Regions from separate parts of the Homo sapiens genome. Here regions 2 and 3 are each linked to region 1. Evidence: promoter capture Hi-C in 16 types of primary human blood cells and fetal thymus (Javierre and others, 2016). All regions are on one chromosome and are shown on one strand. Each heading gives the region's core, a stretch centred on a gene start or on the middle of the fragment in contact. The rest is flanking DNA. Distances are from core to core; before and after follow the strand shown.

Region 1 (4,614 bases), core at 1,370-3,869:
CATTTTCCTTTATACATGGCTCCTTCTTAAAACTACTGCAGCAAGATACCAAAAACAATTAATGAGAAACATAAAACACGTGCAGATAAGGTAGGGAAATGTATGTGTATTCAGAGTCACTAAGAGACACCTCAGTTATCTTCCTTATAATTTAGACATCTTGGCACAGTTTTATTCCCTACTGTTTGTAGTAATTTTTCTGCTACTCCCAAAATAAGCAAGTTTTATCATCTGCAAATACATGACACTTGGATAGGGTGGTTATAACGCTGCCTCCTTGTTTCTCTCGATTAAAAAAAGCCTGTTTCACAGGAAAATAAATCACGATACCTAACCCAAATGTGAAAGAACAGACTGAGCAGAACTAACAAAACTCATTTGCTCTTCTAGTTTTTAAAAATGTGAGTTTTGGACATCTGATTCCTGATCTCACCCTCAAGAAGTGGATCTGGTTATAAAGTGATGATGTTTTACAGTACATGTGACCATAGTTTAGCTGCTATAATATTCTTAATATAGTTACATAGCCAGGCTATGCAAGGTTTCTCACAAAACCAGAAAAGCTATTCGATCCTTATCATTCCCTTCCTGTACTGTTCTCAATAACTGGCTTCTCAAATCGTTCAGGAAACCACTGAGAATCATTAACGGGTTATTGGAATGCCCAGAGTGACTGCCCAAGGACAGGAAAATGCACTGGCTCTTTTTAGAAGAACCTGGAAAAGTGCATGCAGACCATTGCGGCTGAGTTGGCAATGGATGATTTCCTTCTCACAGTGTAATGTACAATAGCTGTAATTTAATTGTTAATAGAACACAACATGCAGTCTGTCTTCAGGCCTCTGTGTTTCTTGTGGTATTTTCTTCCCAGGTTGGAGTGTTTTTGTATAATCACATCTTATTCTCTTTTAACAGTTATCAACTCTTGGCTAGATCCCCTTATACAATACAGAGTATAGTTTATTCTCAGTAGTGTAGCCATCCTCATTATTATCAAACAGAACTAATTGCTGAGATGCTCATAGTAATATGCAAAACAGCTTGTCCTTTGTTATTTAGAAATTGTTTATATTAAGTTTATATTCTCTTTTAATTTGTTAAAGATATAATTCTTTGACTGAGATAGGACATTTCTTCTCATTGGTTTATTTATTTTAGAGATGAGATCTCACTATGTTGCCCAGGATGATTTTGAACTCCTGGACTCAACCAGTCCTCCTGTCTCAGCCTCCCCAAATGCTAGGATTACAGGTGTGAGCTACTACACTCAGCCATTTCTTCTAGTTTTAGATCTATATAATAAAACGATGCTTTTCTGTGATCCCTTAACATTCTCTACACTCAGGTGCATGTTCAAAGCATATTTGTTTTACTGTTGCCTAGTTTTCCATGTCATTCATTGAATTATCCAATGCATATTAATTATCAGTCACTTTTCCCATTACTAAGGGTACTTGAGTGAACAGAGCAGACAAAAACCCCACCCTTAAAAAGCTTATATTATTTTCAAGTTGTTGCAACTTTGGGTGTTTTTAAAAAATAAAAATTCCCAGCTGATAAAACCAACTTATTTGACAGCTACCTGCCTCACCAGTAGAACCAAGTTATAGCCAGAATTCAGAAATAACATTTTTGAGCATTTATTGTGTCTGACAATGTGCCAATCACTTTACATTTATTTTAGCTCATTTAATGCTTACAACAACTAGAAGGAGGTACTATTAGGATCCCTATTTTACAGATGAAAAAAGTGAAGGTCAGAGAGATTAGTTAAGCAGAGGGTACAAGATTAGGTTCCAGTTGACTCTTAACAACCATTTCATATTCCAGGTGATGCTTTACAGACATCTGATGAATGGATGGATGAATGAATGCATGCACTTTGGGAACTCCCATTCAGCTTGGCATAAATACTAACTCCTTAGAATACCCTAGAAAAATCTAGACCTTTTGTTGGAAGAAAAGAGTGGGAAGGGTGGTAGGGAATTATTTTTTCGAGTGAATTGAGGCAGATGATCTTACAGATGACTGGGTTCTAGTCAGCATGGTTGCCTTATCTGGTGAGAGATGAGAATTGGGCAGACACCAGTTCTGTCTGCCCTGGGCCCTCAAACTGAGTAGCCTCTGAGATTCAAGTTCATCAGCACAGTGTTGGAGGACAGTTCCTGCAGAGCCCCATGAATCAGAGGAGACTCGGAGGCAGGAGGAACTGGCTATCCTAAAGGTGATTTTAAACCGGGGTAGCTAGAGCCCAAAGAAGGGCGAAACCAGGACTAACTGCCCCATAGCATGAGGGGCAGCGCCTGTAAAATTACATAGGATTTGTAAAGGTGGAAGGCACTGTTGCGCCGGGTAAAGCTTCGCAAGGTCGTGGTAGGGGAAATGATTCACTCCCCTTCACTATTCCCTCGCAGCATGGTCCTCACAACCCCCTTCTCTTTCCCCATTTCCATTTCCGGACTCTTCTCCTGCCCGCAGGGCAGACGCACGCGCAGAGAGATTGCCAGCCCTGGCTGCCAGAGACCCGGAAGCATCGATCGGCTCTGTGCTCGGCTTCTAGACTTGTCGGCGCTCGATTGAGGAGCGTGGCTACGTTGCTTCCGGTGCCTGGCTCCGTTTCCTGCTTTTGGTTCTTACAGTAGTCGGCGTAGGCCTTAGGTGGGTTCGTGCGCCTTCTACCTCGCTGTTTCGGTTTTCCTGGCTCCTCGGCCCTTTTCTCCCCTGTTGCAGCTGGGAGCGGACGAAGCGCGAAGCTGGGGTGGGTACGCGTTTGGCCCGGGTTTGGATCTCGGAGGGGCAGGCTTGGGGGTGAGGAGACTGACTCTGGGGCCGGGCATCGCGTGGCAGCTCCCTTGGACTTCGTTAGGGGGCCTTGGGCGAAGGTGCTTGTGTCTGGAGAGGCGGGAGGCTTGCGCGTACGAAGTAAAGGATAGTTAATGTCAGTCTGCTCGTGCGAGGCGTGGACAGTTCACTGCGCTTTCAGGTGTCTTCCAGCGGCTCCCTTTTGGTGGTGGCGGGTAATTCAGGGTGTCCCTGTAACAACGCAGCCCACGATCAAACCTCGCATGAAACCCTGCAAGAGCCTCCCCTTTGTCCCCCTACCTTCACTTTGACCTCTGCCTCAGTCACTTCCCTTTCGTCGTCTCCTTTGCGACCCCTGCCCCTTCTCCAGATTTCGATTTAGGGGGTCGCAAGGCTTTGAGAAGCGTTACGTTTTACCTGTTACCTGCACAAGTGCAGCCCCTGCTTGTAGGCTCTTCCCTTGTCAATCATCCAATGCAGTTCACATACAGTGGATGCTCTGTAAATACTGTGAGATAAAGGAATATGTGGGGCACACAAGGAAATCATCCAAGTTCACAATTTGCAAGTAAAAACCATGTAAAAAATGCAATAGTGTGGTATATGAGGAAGACAAGTGTAGAGGAGAAAGCAAGGGCTGAATTTCCAGGCCTGATGCTTATTAGCTGTGTGACCTTAGGCAAGTTCCTTACCTGGTAATAGCTGTTAATAATAGCTACTCTTAAGTGTTTACCGCTGATGCAGAACTGTGCTAGAATTCATTTAGTCTTCTGAGTTCTATTGGGTAGGTTCTGTTACCATTCTTATTTTACTGATGAGGACCTGAGAGGTTAAGGAACTTCCCTCAGGCAAACAGCTAGTAAGAAGCATAAATAGGATTTGAATTCACATCTGGCTGATACTGGAATCTGAGTTTAATCGTCATGCCACACTGCTGTCATTGAGCTCCTTTCTTTCAAGTCGGTTAGAGATAACCTTGGAGTCCAGACAGCTTGGTGATGCTGTATACAAATTAATAGGTATGGAAGGACTTTGTAAGTGCACCCATTAAGTAGTTGGCAAACTTCATTAATGTCTAACCTTATGATTTTTACTGGATGTACATTTGCTACTTTGGTCATTTTTCTTCAAATCTACATTTTAAAATTATTTCATTGAGGAGGTGGAAAGAAAATGTCACGTGTCATAAGTGAAACGTAAGTGTAAAAATAAATGTGTTGAATTAAATGGTGTTACTAAAATCTGGCTAGGTATTGGTGCTCCAAGTTTTGAATGTGAGAAACTGTTCTTCTTCTGTATGAAAAGGAGGGCTAGTAGGTGCTGGAGATACAATAAAGGCTACAGCCAAACTGACATTTTCTGACAACTGGGATTGAAAGAGAAATGAAAAGTTAATAATTCTTGTGTTGTGTCCTTATGCCACAGTCCAGTATAATTTACTCCTTCCTTTTTATAACAGATTTTTTACTGTCTCCTGAAGAATTTAACACAAACATGGATATCAGACCAAATCATACAATTTATATCAACAATATGAATGACAAAATTAAAAAGGAAGGTAAGTGCTTTTTAGAATACTTGTTCACTACTAAAATGTGTTTATTTACTACTGTCTTAAAAATTGTACTGCCTCAAAACCTCTTACCTCATCATCTTAGTGCCTGAAATAATGGTTTATCCCATTTCCTATAGGGATTTGAAGGCTTTTAAAAAACAAAAATAGGTAGGAACTGACAGTGTGTACAGTCTGTTTCTACTCATAGATATAATGGTTTCATATAACTTTTAAAATTACATATAGCCAATGGGAAT
Region 2 (4,456 bases), core at 1,416-3,915, 1.2 Mb after region 1:
GGCAACACAATGAGACTGTCTCCAAAAAAAAAAAAAAAAAAAAAAAAAAAAAAACAAAAAAACAATGCCCACAGCCCAGGGCTCTGCCACAGCAGAATGCTGCTGCCGCCACAATGGCACTCACCTGATGCTTACTGTGAGATAGATTAGGGAGGTTCTCACTTAATAGTGCTACCCTACGAATAGCAACTGTTTCAAGCTCAGGGAATCTCTTCTCACATCCACTGTGAATAACAAGGCTGCAACCTAGCACTGTATGTATTACCACTGCATGTTACTTACCTTTGTGTGCACTGTAAATTTGACTTTGTCTCTCTCACTGAGCGCATCAGGTATGTCAATCTGAAGCGAGGGATCAACATTCAGGTCCACAGATACAGATCTCAGCTGAAATACATTTTTTGCGTATTAGTTTCAAACTCATTTGGCCCTAAAAAATTATTCCAAAAATGAGTAGTTACTAAAAAGCAGTTTATACATAGATCATTTAGAAATGTCAGTTGAGCTGGGCGCGGCGGCTCACCCCTGTAATCCCAGCACTTTGGGAGGCCAAGGCGGGTGGTTCACAGGGTCAGGAGATGGAGACCATCCTGGCTAACATGGTGAAACCCCGTCTCTACTAAAAATACAAAAAATTAGCTAAGCGTGGTGGCGGGCACCTGTAGTCCCAGCTACTTGGGAGGCTGAGGCAGGAGAATGGCCTGAACACTGGAGGCGGAGCTTGCAGTGAGCTGAGATCACACCACTGCACTCTAGCCTGGGCGACAGAGCGAAACTGTCTCAAAAAAAAAAAAAAAGAATTAAAAATTAAAAAAAAGAAAAAGAAATGTCAGTTGAGACATTTCTAAGTTTATGTGAAACTGAGGGGAAACCCATTCTTCACATGCATTGGTATATCCGAAGTATTCCTGTAATGTAAACAACAGCTACAATAATGTCATGTACAATACATTTGGCCAAATACCTGACTGTACACTAAGGCCTGAACTAAATAGAACAAAATCTTGAATTCTTACATAAATGCCAAAGTACAATGAACATTCAAGAGGCATTAACCAGGCCACACAAATATCTGAAAGGAAAACCTGGGGAGATGGCACAGAGAACAGTCATGTGGAATAGGATCCTGGGTGGAGAGTTCAGAGTAAACCTGGGACTGTTTCAAATAGCCAAGGAATCTAGACAGGAGGGGTGAATTAGAAAAACCAACCAAGGCCTTACTTAATTAGCACAATCCCACTGTGGTTACACATGAGCAACAAGTGTGAGCATCACTCTGAATACTCAATTAACTGATTTTCTGAGCTGGAAATTGAGAGGAAAAAAACTACCTAACTCCATTTCTGCCCGTCAAAAAAAAAAAAAAAAAAAAGAGAGGAGAGAACAGTGGCAGCACTAATAGGAACTGGGCTATTAGGGAAAAGTGACTTAAATAAAAGTACATTAAAGCAGACAAGGTGGTGGTCAATCTGAAAACCTGACACACAAGGCACGAGGAACTCATAGCGTAAGCATCTCATTGCCCCATTCCTTTTACTGTAAGGAGTGCTAAAGTAAAGTTGTCATAACACTGGATTACCCAAAGCACGGAATGCCAAGTGAAGATTACAATTAAGAAGATGAGGTATTTCACTCCAAATTTCCCTTTGGGTCCCTTTCTTCAAAATAAAAAGTTCAAGACTAAAAACTTATGTACTTAACCTCTAAAACTTGAAAATCTGGTCAATCAGCTATAAAAAGACTAAATATATTCACTAAAAGCACATGGATTACTTAAGTTTCAAGTACTCCCTTTTTCCTTAAGCACTGTATATTTATAATTCTGAAAGCCAGAGGGAGCCTATTACAATGGCTTTCCTCCAAAAAATTAAGCTCAAGTAGTCACCAGAAGTTGATTTTAACATCAACTATTAGTAAGATCAAAACAGATACTTTTGAGTCCTCACATCTCAACCTAAGTATTTTTCTTCCACATGAATTCTTGATAACTCCTATGAAATATCTGCTTGTCTGGCTTAATTTTCACATGTCCATTTGTGAGATCTCTGCAAACAAAGATAAAGCTTCAAGGTCTGCGACTTCATTTGATCATAACTGACTCCAGCTTTGGCGTATTTTCTGATAAGAGCTTCCTTCCTTCTGCTAAGTTAACACTGGCAAATACAGCCTTTAAAAATACCTCAAATCATTAACTGAGATGTGATTGCAGAGGCTATACCAACGACTCTACTGATCTTAGGCTTATCTGTCAAGGTCAGGCAGGCCCAAGAACAGGAATAAACAGAGCCAGGCCTAAGAAGTAGCCATGGTCTCTGGAGGAGACATAGGACAGCTCACAGGACAGGTCTAAGGTGCCTTTCCCAGAGCTCAAAAACTGCCACATTTCCTAAGATTCCATTTCCTAAAGTCACAAACCCTGACTTCTAGCACTGCTCAAATGAATATGCTGACAGTTCCATTTTCGCTCACAAGCCCAGCAAACTCAGTGAGCCTGTGAACTCCACATGGGATACCCTTGGAATTCGAATAGGAGGACCCAAGGGGGATGTAATCAAGTAAATGGAGCTCATTTGTGCACCACAGTTAAAGCTGCAATGGATGCTACCAGCTGCTTTAGCTGCTTTTCGTTCCTCTGAATAATTATCTTCTCTTTTCGTCCCTTTCCCCATGTAGAGGTAATACCCCCGACTATACCTGTCTTCCTTTCTGGTTAGTATAGAAACATATTTTTTGTTTCAGAATGTGATGAAGACAAAAAGAAGAAAACCACTAGGTTATGAGTGACTGCAACCACAGCATATCAAACATCCGAGGTTCACTAGCAGCCATTTTGCCCAGACATTTCGCCCTAGGAAGGGATTCAAGCAAAACTCCAATCACTTGACATGACAGTCCTAACCACCAAATAAGCAAATAATGCAATGTTGTATTTGGGCCTTAAAGAACTGTCTAAAAGAGAGTATTGGCAAAACCCCTCAGCATCCAGGCCATCATTAACTCAATGTCCCCCAGGCGCAAGTTAAATGAACTTTCTCATATTATAGCATATAACCCTCCAGATGAGACAAACATGGGTAGAAACTTGTGAAATGACTAGAGCTTCTAAGTCAGCATTTGTACTCTCACTCGGGAAGCATCAAGTGTGACCAAAAGTTCAGCATTCCTTCTGCTTAGTCAACAAACCCACTCCACAGTGCTACAGAACTTGCTAAATAATTGCCAGGCTCCACTCTTCCCCTCTCACTTGCCTCTGCCTCCATCCCCCCTTAAGCTTGAAGGGCTCAGAGTACTCCTTAGCCCTGCTGGCCAACACTTGAGTCTCTGACTTAGGCCACAGATGTTACAATGCTTACAGTGGCCGTTTACAACAGTTAACAAAGCAGGCTTTAGAACCAAGTCCAGCCTTGGGCATGCCGGACCTTTACCATGCAAAGTTTTACCTCTTTTCCAGATCCCTTAGGTCACTTGTAAGAATCAAATTGAAAATATACCTACTCTCAAATAATTTAAGTTTTAAAACTGACTTCTGGCTGGGTGTGGTGGCTCACGCCTGCAATCCCAGCAATTTGGGATGCCAAGGTAGGCAGATCACTTGAGGTCAGGAGATCGAGACCAGCCTGACCAACATGGTGAAACCCCGTCTCTACTAAAAATACAAAAAGTGGCCAGGCACGGTGGCTCACGCCTGTAATCCCAGCACTTTGGGAGGTGGAGGCAGCTAGATCACAAGGTCAGGAGATCGAGAACATCTTGGCCAACACGGTGAAACCCCGTCTCTACCAAAAATACAAAAATTAGCTGGGCATGGTGGCGCACATCTGTAATCCCAGCTACTCAGGAGGCTGAGGTAGGAGAATCGCTTGAACCCAGGAGGCAGAGGTTGCAGTGAGCCGACATCACGCGACTGCACTCCAGCCTGGGCGATGAGAGCGAAACTCCGTCTTAAAAAAACAAACAAACAAAAAAACACACACAAATTAGCCTGGCATGGTGGCGTGCGCCTGTAATCCCAGCTACTCAGGAGGCTGAGGCAGAAGAACTGCTTGAACTCGGGAGGAGGAGGTTGCAGTGAGCCAAGATCGCACCACTGCACTTCAGCCTGGGCAACAGAGCGAGTCTCCAAAAAAAAAAAAAAAAACTACACATAAAAAACAAACCCAACAACCCAGCCTGAGCAAAACGGTGAGACCTCATCTCTATTTCAGAATTTTTAAAAAATTTTTAAAAACCTGACTTTTGTAGATTTCCCTTGAAACTACTGGATCACGTATCCAAAGTTTTAGGTAAAGTTTCAGTTCATGATGTACTTCCCTACCAGGTCAATCCTTACAATACGGATTATAATCAGCCTTCACGGTAAACAAGCACGGCTTCATTTGGAAAGCACATTTTCAACTGTTTTAAAAAATCGCAGTGCTTTTGGTAAGAGAGCCAAGGCACTTCCCTAAAAGGAGAA
Region 3 (3,978 bases), core at 628-3,127, 1.5 Mb after region 1:
GCTGTAACCCATTAATCTCCCAGCCTGGGGTGGGGGGCTTACTCTGCCCTTACATGGGATTGTGATGCTCTCTCATCTAGTGCGTTGATGTGGGTGCCTTTGTATGAAGGGTGTGTCCTTGGCAGTCCTTCAAGCCTTCTTGCTACTCCACTAAAACAAACATATCCTATAAACAAATTCTTACAGATAGATAGCTGGAGCCTAATAAGGATGTGTTGAATGTTTGCAACTCTTTGCTAAGACCACAGGCTTCTAAAAGGAAAAGAAAAAAAAAAGCTAATTCCATTTATGTGATGTTCTAGAACAGGAATCACTAATTTGGTGACTGCCTTTGAGGCAACAGAATTGAGTTTGACTGGGAAGGGGCATGAGGAAACCTTCCAGAATGGCGGGGATATTCTCATCTCGAGAAGGGTTTGGGTTTTATGGGTGTCTGCATTTGTCAAGATTCATCGAATAGTACACTTAAGATCTGTGCATTTTGTTGTATGTTTTAAATTTAAAAAAAAAAACCATTGACAAATACTGAACTCTAATGACATGTATGCTGAACGATTTAGGGGTGAACTGATGTCTGCAACTTTGAAATGCATCAAAAAAGTGGATGAACTGATGGATGGATAGAGGGATGACAGAAAATATAACAAAAGATATATAGTAAAAAATAACTATGGCGGGCATCTGGATATTCACTGTATGATTCTCTCAACTTTTTTTTTTTTTTTTTTTTTTTGAGACAGAGTCTCACTCTGTCACCCAGGCTGGAGTGCAGTGGCACGATATTGGCTCACTGCAACCTCCGCCTCCCGGGTTCAAGCGATTCTCCTGCCTCAGCCTCGCGAGTAACTGGGATTACAGGCGCCCACCACCACGCATGGCTAATTTTTGTATATTTAGTAGAGACAGGGTTTCACCATTTTGGCCAGGCTAGTCTTGAACTCCTGAACTTGTGATCCACCCGCCTCAGCCTCCCAAAGTGCTAGGATTACAGGCGTGAGCCACCACGCCCGGCCATTCTCTCAACTTTTATATTAGAAAATTGTCACGATATGTTGGAATGAAAACAATTAAGGTAGATGTAATCATTTATTACCTTTAAACATGTTATGCCAACTTATTCAATGTTCAAGCTTCTGCTTTGTAAAAGGACATTTTTAACAGTTCTAACCAAAGAAGGCTGCAGAGTGGAAAGCTAATACCTTGGTGGTACTCTTCTCCACCAACATGGCTGGATGGTAATTACCTGTGACACATCCTTCCCTTTAGACTCTGTGCTGCTGGAGGGCAGGGAGCATGAGGCATTCATTTCATGAGCCATGTGTTTGTGGTGGGCACTTAATTAAGATGTGGTAAGAGCAGAGTTTCTGAGTCAGAAGGGTTCAGATTTGAGTTCTGCAACTTACTGGCTGCATGACCTTAGGCAACGTACTCACTAACACAGAGCTTCCATGTCCTGTCCGTAAAAAGGAAGTCATCTCCATTTGGCTGTCTGGAGGGCTCAGTGAGGTGATGTGACTAAAGCACAGTATCTGGCTCCTGAAAAGAACTTCAAAAATAGTAGCCTGTGCCTGAGACTGAGGCAGACCTGGATCTTTGGGCCCTAACAGAACTACTGGAGGACAAATTCCCAAAGGAATCACTAAATGATGGCTATTTCATTTCATCAAGACTGAGGTATCATGTCAACCCATTTCTAGGACAAAACTTCAGCTGCTGTCTTGGTCTGCTTTATCCACACCTGACCTGTCACTTACAATGTACATTCTGAGGACCAACATCTCCAAACATTGTCCTGGGGCAGGAGCATCCTCCTTACTAGAAAGCTCAGGGCCTCTGAATCAGAATCTGCATCACAACAAGATCCCCAGAATACTGAAGTTTGAGAAGCTCTGGTCTACATTAGATGGTTTTCTAATGGCTCCCTGTTGCCACTGATAATAAAGCTCTCTTGTCTTTACCAGAGCTACAAGTCATCCCTGACTCTCTTCGTCTTCCTTATTGCCCTTAATTTCTTCATTCTTTAGGATCTGCCCTCAGTGCTACTGGTTTTATTGTCATTAAAAAATATTAACGCAATGCTCAGACTTCCTCAATTATGAATATGGTAAAAAAAATTAACTTATGGACAATCTATTCTAAAAATACTAAATATATGGACACGTGGATGCAGCACTGTAGTCCTCCTTATTCACAGTTCCACTTTCTGAGGTTTCAGTTACCCAGGGGCAACCACGGTCTGAAAATAGGCGAGTACAGTACGATAAGATATTTCGGGAGACCACATCCACGCAACTTTTGTTACAGTATATTGTTATAGTTGTTCTACTTTATTATTAGTTATGAATCTCTTACTGTGCCTAATTTATAAATTAAACCATATCTTCAGTTTTTTTGTATAGCAAAAAACATATGTACAGTATGTGGGATTTGGTACTATCCAAGGTTTCAGGCAACCAGTCTTGAATGTAACCCCCCATGGATGGCAGGGGAGGGGAACTACCATATTTAAATTTTTAAAAATTGATAAGGTTTCTTTTCTCAGCTGGTAGGTTTTGTGTTGTTATGATTTTATAAGCTCAGCCACATGCAAAATCGAGTCAAGACACCTTGGCCAGGCAGGTGAGGAAGCTTATGTAGCCCCAACCTTGCCTTCTGCCACTCTGCACCCCATATTCCCTTCTCCAAGCTCTCACAGCTCTCTGCACCTCTGAATAGCTCTGGTGACACTAGGATCAGTGATTTGCCTGTCCTTCTCTCACTGCTACCTGAATACTGTATTTTCTTTCATAAAATAGCATCCTACCTGAATGCCTAGTGCTGACTGGAAAATATGGAGGGAGTGTTGGCATTGGAAATTACAGCTTTGTAACTATTAGGGTAAAAACTAGTCTAGGCAAGAATCATTAATGGATGCACAGTCTTAAATTGTCTCCTCAGAGATGGTCTTAGAAACGAAAAAAATAGTAACTGTACAAGGCAGAAATCAGGCACTACCAAATGTGATATCCCTCACACAACCCCCAAATAAAACATTCAGCTACCAAAAAGGAGGACCCTGTTCTTAAAAGACAGAAAAACAAACCCTAAGAAAAATATTCCAGGTTAAAGGATACTAGAATCATGACAACTAAACCTAATCCTAGGCTGGATCCCATACTAGAACGCAAAAAAAAAAAAAAGTTATAAAACACATTATCAAGTCAATTGTCAAATTAGAATACCGATGATAGGTTATTAAAAGTACTGCATCAGTGTTACATGTACTGCACCTGCAACTTTGTTACGTTTGAAATTATTTTCAAATAAAAGGTTTAAAATTTACAAAAAAGTATTTCTTTCTAAATTAAAAAAATAACCATTTCAATATATAAAAATAAAAATATATTTAAATATAAAAATAAACTACCCAAAGGCATGTTTCTTTAAACAGGTAAATCACGCTATCAGTAAAAAAAAAAAAGTGCAATAGAGCAGCCGGGTGCGGTGGCTCACACCTGTAATCCCAGCACTTTGGGAGGCTGAGCTGGGTCAATCACCTGAGGTCAGGAGTTTGAGACCAGCCTGGCCAACATGGTGAAACTCTGTCTCTACTAAAAACACACAAAAAAATTAGCCAGGCATGGTGGTAGGTGCCTGTAATCCCAGCTACTCGGGAGGCTGAGGCAGGAGAATTGCTTGAACCTGGGTGGCAGAGGTTGCAGTGAGCCGAGATTGTGCCATTGCACTCCAGCCTGGTCAATAAGAGCAAAACTCTGTCTCAAACAAAACAAAACAAAACAAAAAAACAAAAAAAAAAACTGCAATAGAGCTTGTGAGAAGCTGCCAGGAACAAGGTGAAATGGAACATACATTGGAGGAGAATAAGGAAGCAGCAATAATGAATCCTGGCCAACAGGTACTGAGCCCCAAATCGCTTCACAAGTATTATCACAGTTTCACTGCTTTCCAATGTATTCATTTATGCCTTTGTGTTTCTTT

Evidence for each region. The method cuts DNA at HindIII sites, captures the fragments that hold promoters and counts their contacts. A CHiCAGO score of 5 or more calls a contact.
Region 2: a fragment that was not itself captured here is called in contact with the fragment with the promoter of SNRPB2 in region 1 in 2 of 17 cell types (activated CD4 T cells and total CD4 T cells); the score reaches 7.6 in activated CD4 T cells.
Region 3: a contact is called between a fragment that was not itself captured here and the fragment with the promoter of SNRPB2 in region 1, in 4 of 17 cell types (naive CD8 T cells, naive CD4 T cells, non-activated CD4 T cells and 1 more). The highest score is 8.4, in naive CD8 T cells.

The regions. Positions count from the first base shown.
Region 1 is chr20:16,727,407-16,732,020 of GRCh38, forward strand. It overlaps SNRPB2 (small nuclear ribonucleoprotein polypeptide B2), which reads left to right and starts at 2,620. Exons shown (of 7, transcript NM_003092.5): 1 at 2,620-2,758; 2 at 4,262-4,360. The coding sequence starts at 4,297. RefSeq lists enhancers at 1,731-2,599, 2,658-2,707, 2,758-2,877 and a silencer at 3,028-3,077. The HindIII fragment of the contact is 9,448 bases long and covers 2,357-4,614 here.
Region 2 is chr20:17,956,651-17,961,106 of GRCh38, forward strand. SNX5 (sorting nexin 5) reads right to left here. Exons shown (of 13, transcript NM_014426.4): 2 at 283-387. Among named protein-coding and RNA genes, the nearest start is that of SNORD17, 4.1 kb to the right of the region's middle. The HindIII fragment of the contact is 1,208 bases long and covers 2,062-3,269 here.
Region 3 is chr20:18,278,110-18,282,087 of GRCh38, forward strand. LOC124904876 (a long non-coding RNA gene) reads left to right here. Exons shown (of 3, transcript XR_007067544.1): 3 at 1,698-1,962. Among named protein-coding and RNA genes, the nearest start is that of ZNF133, 8.4 kb to the right of the region's middle. The HindIII fragment of the contact is 1,498 bases long and covers 1,129-2,626 here.